Regions from separate parts of the Homo sapiens genome. Here region 2 is linked to region 1. The links are contacts of gene promoters, found by promoter capture Hi-C in blood cells and fetal thymus (Javierre and others, 2016). All regions are on one chromosome and are shown on one strand. Each heading gives the region's core, a stretch centred on a gene start or on the middle of the fragment in contact. The rest is flanking DNA. Distances are from core to core; before and after follow the strand shown.

What was found. Contacts are between HindIII fragments. The CHiCAGO score rates a contact against its expected background, and 5 or more counts as called.
Region 2: a contact is called between a fragment that was not itself captured here and the fragment with the promoter of SCG5-AS1 in region 1, in 7 of 17 cell types (M2 macrophages, endothelial precursors, M1 macrophages and 4 more). The highest score is 21.5, in M2 macrophages.

Annotation. Positions count from the first base shown.
Region 1 is chr15:32,671,678-32,674,810 of GRCh38, reverse strand. It overlaps SCG5-AS1 (SCG5 antisense RNA 1), which reads left to right and starts at 1,746. Exons shown (of 4, transcript NR_135505.1): 1 at 1,746-1,821. All of the region lies in intron 10 of ARHGAP11A-SCG5 (ARHGAP11A-SCG5 readthrough), which reads right to left. The region is part of intron 2 of SCG5 (secretogranin V); the gene reads right to left. The HindIII fragment of the contact is 5,358 bases long and covers 1-3,133 here.
Region 2 is chr15:32,943,381-32,946,444 of GRCh38, reverse strand. The region is part of intron 9 of FMN1 (formin 1); the gene reads left to right. Among named protein-coding and RNA genes, the nearest start is that of GREM1-AS1, 230 kb to the right of the region's middle. The HindIII fragment of the contact is 467 bases long and covers 1,489-1,955 here.

The DNA.
Region 1 (3,133 bases), core at 497-2,996:
CCTCCAATTCTCCCTTCTGTACGTATCCCTTTGAGGTTGGCAATTCAGCTGGGAAGTTGACCTGGTTGGTTTGAGTCTCTCCCTGGCCTTGGAGACCTGATCAACCTCAGCTCCAAGTTTTGCCACTCATGGTCTTGTTCGGTGTTAACAAAGCCCCCAACAGCACTCCCAAGGACAACCTCTAACAACTCCAATGATCGCTTGTCCAGAAGAGGGCACTAACTTTTCTGGTTACTTAAAAACTCCCTTGGGTTTCAAATCCATTTTCCTGTCTCTATGATTTTGAAGATCAGTTGTTAGTACCTAGTAAACAGAAATATGAAAATTAAATACCTTCTGACCCCCAAAGTTTTACTTGGCTCTGAACAGCCATGGCCTTTTTGTTGCACTGGTAGGGTTTTTTTCATTGTTTAATTTTAGAGTAAATCTCTGTTATCATATTTTATCTTGATATAATTTGACTCTCTAAAATGTGCATAAAAAACAAAATCCGAATTAACAGAGGTTTCCGATTATAGTACCATCTCACTTATCTCTTTAGAGAGAACGTGCTGTTTCATGTAGTATTCAGATCACTGAAGCATCGGTTTAAGATCAAGATTTATTTAACCATTTTAAAGGAGAATTTTCCACTATGAACATTAGGTAAATACTTTAAACAGCAGGAGAATATGACTTTGCCTGTTCTTGATAATTTGGGACTATTACTGGGAATATCAATGACTATACAGTGTTGTAACAGTGTATTCTCAGAGTATTAAAGGGCATTCGGATATAAAACTATATTAAATGGGCCGGGTGCGGTGGCTCACACCTATAATGCCAGCACTTTGGGAGGCAGAGGCGGGTGGATCACAAGGTTAGGAGTTCAAGACCAGCCTGGCCAAGATGGTGAAACCCCATTTCTACTAAAAATACAATTACAGGCAGGCGCCTGTAATCCCAACTACTCAGGAGGCTGAGGCAGGAGAATCACTTGAACTTGGGGAGTAGAGGTTGCAGTGAACCGAGATCATGCCACTGCACTCCAGCCTGGGCGGCAAAGTGAGACTCCGTCTCAAAACAAACAAACAAACAAACCTATATTAAATGGTCCCAGATGCAATAGTTTTTAATGTTCTTTGTCACCTCACTCCTTCTAAGTTATTAATTCTAGTCATCCCAAATCCTTTCCATAATGAAATACAATAAATTGAGAGTGCGCCTAGGCCCTGCAAGTCTCTTCTAATTTTACCCTCCCCCGCACAACACACACACACACACACACACACACACACACACACGGGGATCTTATCCAAATGTGGATTCTGATTCAAGGTGAAGGGTGGGGCCTGAGATTCTGCATTCCTCACAAGCTCCCAGATAGTGCAGATGCTGCTGGTCCATGAGCCACATTTTCAGTAATAAGGGGCTAGAAAATGAGAGAGCCAGGCTTATTAAAATTATATATAAAATGAGATAAAATTAGCTCCGAGAGAGTGCCTAGGTGATCTTGCTTTATGGAATTTGTGACATCGGTGTGGCTGCTAAGAACCTTCTTAAAAGTCTGCAGTTTCAGATAAAGGAGCTGTCACTGCCGTTGTAGTCCTTTTACTTAAAGTTTTACTCTACAGAGGCACTTGCTCACACTTTGCAAGGAAAGGATCCTGCTGCCCCATTTTTTACTTACGCTAGTTCTGTGGGAATTAGAGGTAAACACCTCCCTTGAACGTGAGTTCTCATAGTATAAGCGATGTCCGTTGGAGAGCCTGATGATGTCCCACCACGATGCAACGGCTCTCCTGGCTGGGGCTAGTGGAAGCAGTTTTGATGGAAGTTAAGGTTGGTCAGAAATTAAGAACATAAATGGGACCTGCGTTACTTCGTCACTCTGTCTCTTTTTTTTTTTTTTTTTTTTGTGATGTTATGGTTTCAACAGTTTCAAAGTGCTTTCATCCTTATTAAAAACGTCCTAGTGAGGTCAGTAGGACAAGAATCACTATTCATCATTCTAAGTGAGAAAGTGAGACCTGGGGAAAGGTTTCTTGCCTAAAGCCACTCAGCAAGTTGGTGCTATTTTGGATTCCAGCCCTGTGTTCACTCTACAGTGGCACTGAGAGAGCCCCCACGAGGCCTTCTGCGTCCATTCATACCCTTTCCAGTGCGTTTCCGTCTTCCAAAGATGAGCTGGAGCTCCACAGCCACAGTTAGTAGAATGACCTGTCGGGGTACCTGGGGTCTCTCATAGTTTCCAGGTCACTCAGGGGATCTCCGGTGTCAGTGACTACTGCAGAGCCAGGCCCCGGCAAAATGGCTCTGGGATGGGACGCCACCTGTGGGCCTCGCCACCATGGTTCCTTCGCACCTGAGTGCCCACCTCACGCTGGAGGTTTGGAACATCCGGACAACCCCTGCCCTCCAGACTCTGCCACACAACTTGGGAACACCCTGACAAGCCCGCAGCCAGCATCGTCCCATTCGCACCCCTCACGCTGCCTGCAGCCCTGGGGATTCATGCAATTGGGCACTGGCGCTGGGCAATAAAGAATTGTGGTGGGGCAGCCTGGTGCCAGGGAGCCAGTCGCCCACCTCGTAAAAAGGGAGTTCTGTGAGGAGCGTCTGGCAGGGAGCGGGCACAGGCCCCTGAATACCAGCCATTCAGCTGAAGGGAACGGGTCCAGCAGTTTTCACTTATGTTACCACAAACAGCAGATGCTAAAAATACACTGCGGTCTCGATACATCATTCAGAAAGCGACGGACCAGTTTTCCTTTTGTCAGCGGTCTGGGAGCCTGAAGCAGTCGGATGGGGCATTCCAGACACCGCCTGGCCTCCTTTGGTTTCCCCTCAGACTCTGACAGAGCTGAAGGTGCCAGCGCGAGAGCGCCCGAGGAGACCAGGAGAGAAGGTGGAGAGGCGGCAAGGCTCCCCAGGCTAAGGGAAGGCAAAGCGGAGTGGGGCGAGGAAGGGGCGGGGTGGCTCCTTCTGGAGGCCACAGAACAGCCTGGGACTCCCTGAGGCGACACCGGCCGCAGGCACCAGGCACTGGGGGCTAAGAGAAACCCCGAGACCCAGAAATCTCCTTCCTAAGGTCCAACTTGCCCCAAAAGTTGTTTTTTCTTTTTTTTTTTTCACTACTTGAGGTAAACACATA
Region 2 (3,064 bases), core at 473-2,972, 270 kb before region 1:
AGGCATCTAGGCATCTCTGGGCAAATCATCTACCATGTGTGTTACACCCTTGTTGATCTAAGAGAACCTCTGGGTGCATATGCTCATGGTTCCAGTCAAGATGGGTGTAGACGCTCACTCTTCATGGATGGCAGTGGGTAGGTTTTTTCAGTCACTATGTTATGCCATTCACCTGAAAGCCTGAATGATAGTGTATGATACGCACTTGCTTCCCGTGATAGCTGTGCTATGAGAGTAAGAAGGAGGATAAGACTAATTACGGGGGAAATGTGCTGGGACATAACACCGCAAACCCTAACAAAATCTTGCAGCAGTTCTAAAATATCTACTAAAATACAGTAATATTTCATCTTTCTCTTTTTACCAACATTTCGTGGAATATTTATTTTATATTCATGGAAGGAACTCAGTGAACCTGTTGGAAGCAATATGGCACTTACATATCAGCAGCTGTTAGCCAGAAAATTAACAGAGTGGAGTGACTTGGGTTGTAAGTAGTGTACATTATGGCAATGGCGGCAAATGAAGACTATGCGAGAAGTTGTCTGCAAAAGGAAAATGTGAGGTGCCCTAAGTATCTTTAAAGGAAGAAGTGTTTCCCTTGGAGTTCTGTCTCAGATTTTGCCTTCCAGTGGCTTGAGGCACTGCAGCTAGGGGTGCTCACTCTTGCTGGCTCTTCACCTCTACACAGGAGTGGGAAAGAGCCAGGTAATTTGCATCGTGGATACCCTCTAAATCAAAGGCCATCCATCATTTCTGATATCTTGAATGCAATGATTATCATATCAAAGACATATGATGACATTGAAGATAATAACTTTTCTGTTGCCCATTATCTCTAACCAGCTTGGCGTAATTATTAGCATGTGTTCTTTCCAAAAGCCTAACACTCTAACATGTTGGAAAGAAAAAGCCCTATTTAAGCCACCAAAGATATACGTGTGTGAGACTGGGTTGAAGTTTTTATTATTAGATGAGAAATTATATAGACAAGACAGGAAGTCCAAAGGTCATGCAAACTTTGTTATTTAGAGGTTTTAGGAGGGCACTATGGCTGTCTGTATACTTGGGATTGGCTTTCTATGAGAAAGTTACTTCCAATACTTCCTAAATGAGTACAATAGCTTTAGTAAAGGACTCCGTGGAGATTGATATTCTGAAAGGGGCTCATGGGAAAAACCTCTGGAAATCAGGGATTATAGAAACATACATATATCTATGTATTGGCACCGTGCTAAGTGCCAATGATCAGTAACAAAATAATACATTTATTTAGAGTCACTTCACCCCTCAAAATGTCCATGGACCAGCAGCAACATAATCACCTAGAAGATTATTAGAAATATAAAAATATCAGCCCCTGTATTAGTTTCCTAGGGCTAATTTAACAAACTGTCACCAACTGTTGACTTGAAACAACAAAAATTTATTGTCTCATAATTCTAGAGTCTAGAAGTCTAAAATCAAAGCTGTTCGCAGGGCCAAGCTTTGGTAGCTCTGGTTCTGTCTGAAGGCAGTGAATGCACTGATGTCTCTTGGTCTTTTCTTCCCGCAAGACTCCATGATCAATAGGAAAAAGCATGTGATTTTGTTTGGGGGTTTGTCTTCTACATTACACAAAATCAGAAATCTGCCCACAGCCCTACCCTCCCCCCTCCAACCCATCACACCCCCACACTGTCATAGCCTTCACCTGCTGTGGCCTCCGCATTAGCCTTCTGAGTGGAATTCATCAGCCTGAAAAACAAGAAAAGGGTTTTTCTGTCTCGTCAGGATGGGGATGGGGTGCCAAATACGTTCTCAGACTCAAGACAGGGTGACAATTTGCCTTTTCACATTTCTTGGTGAAGAGCCTAGATCCTTAAAGTAAACTTCATCCAAGCAATTTTATGTGTCCCCAAAAATAAGGCCATGGAAGAGATTCAGACCTAACAGTTTGACTAAACAGTGAAGCTTAGTTTTCCTTGAAACATTTAATGAGACAGATTATCAGCTGTATGTGGAAAGCTTATTTTAATGTCATTATCAGGCCAGTTGACAGAGGCTTCTTCCCAGAGGCCTACCAGGCCATACTGGCCATTAGCAGCAAGAGCTGTTTTGCACCACGTCGGATGACATTGCATAATATGGCACTACACAGCCAGCCAACCAGCTCTTCTGGGTGTGATGGCAGAGTGGCAGGGGATGGAGCAGGGAAGAAGAAGGGGACCAAGGAAACTGAATCAGCATTGTACTCCTGGGCACCTGCCAAGTAACAATTGCATATTTCCAAAGAAGCGGTTATTCTCCCGTAAGAGAGAAAGCAAGATGGCTGTGGTCCTGCCCTTCCCCTTCCCCAGGCACTCCCTTCTGGCACTGGCTGGGAGGAATCATTGCTTACCTGTCCCATTTGTAGTCACTGCCATATTAGAAATCGTAGGGAGGGGACTAGAATAGCCACAGCTATAAAAGGATTCTGCCAGTTGGTTCCCCCATGATTTTTTTCTGTGCATAAGGCCTGTATCCATAGGCTACCATACCTCATTGCCTTGCATCGTTTTGCATCACTTCTTGGAATTTCTTTCCATTGCGAAACTCTCACTCTGTTTTCCCAATTAGATGTCTATTACTTAGAAGATTTTTTGATTTGGATGGCAGTTAAATGAGAATAAAAATTAAACCTAAGGCCTTCTTAATATTCTCTCTCATCTCACAAAGATACTGCTCTCTAATGCAGCTAAAGTTTAGACCCTATACTAATTTATAATTTGGAGGTATTCAAACTAAAGTATCAGTGCAATCATCAGAGCCTGTAGCCCTTGAATAAGTGAAACAATTTCTGCATCTCTAACATAGGATTCTACGTGTCTTCCAACCCACTCCACAAGAATGTCTTAAAGAGAAACATAACAGTCATTATGAAGGTACCTTTATCTATTTGGAAGCCCATGACTTAGAAGTGGGATGACTGTTACTAAGACAAGCTGACTTGTCATCAGTAGCATATCTACTTTTTACCAACCAGCCTCTTAATGTCCATAGTTTGGCCAGGTGGTGGAATTCAGCGAGTATTGATGTGAAGCAT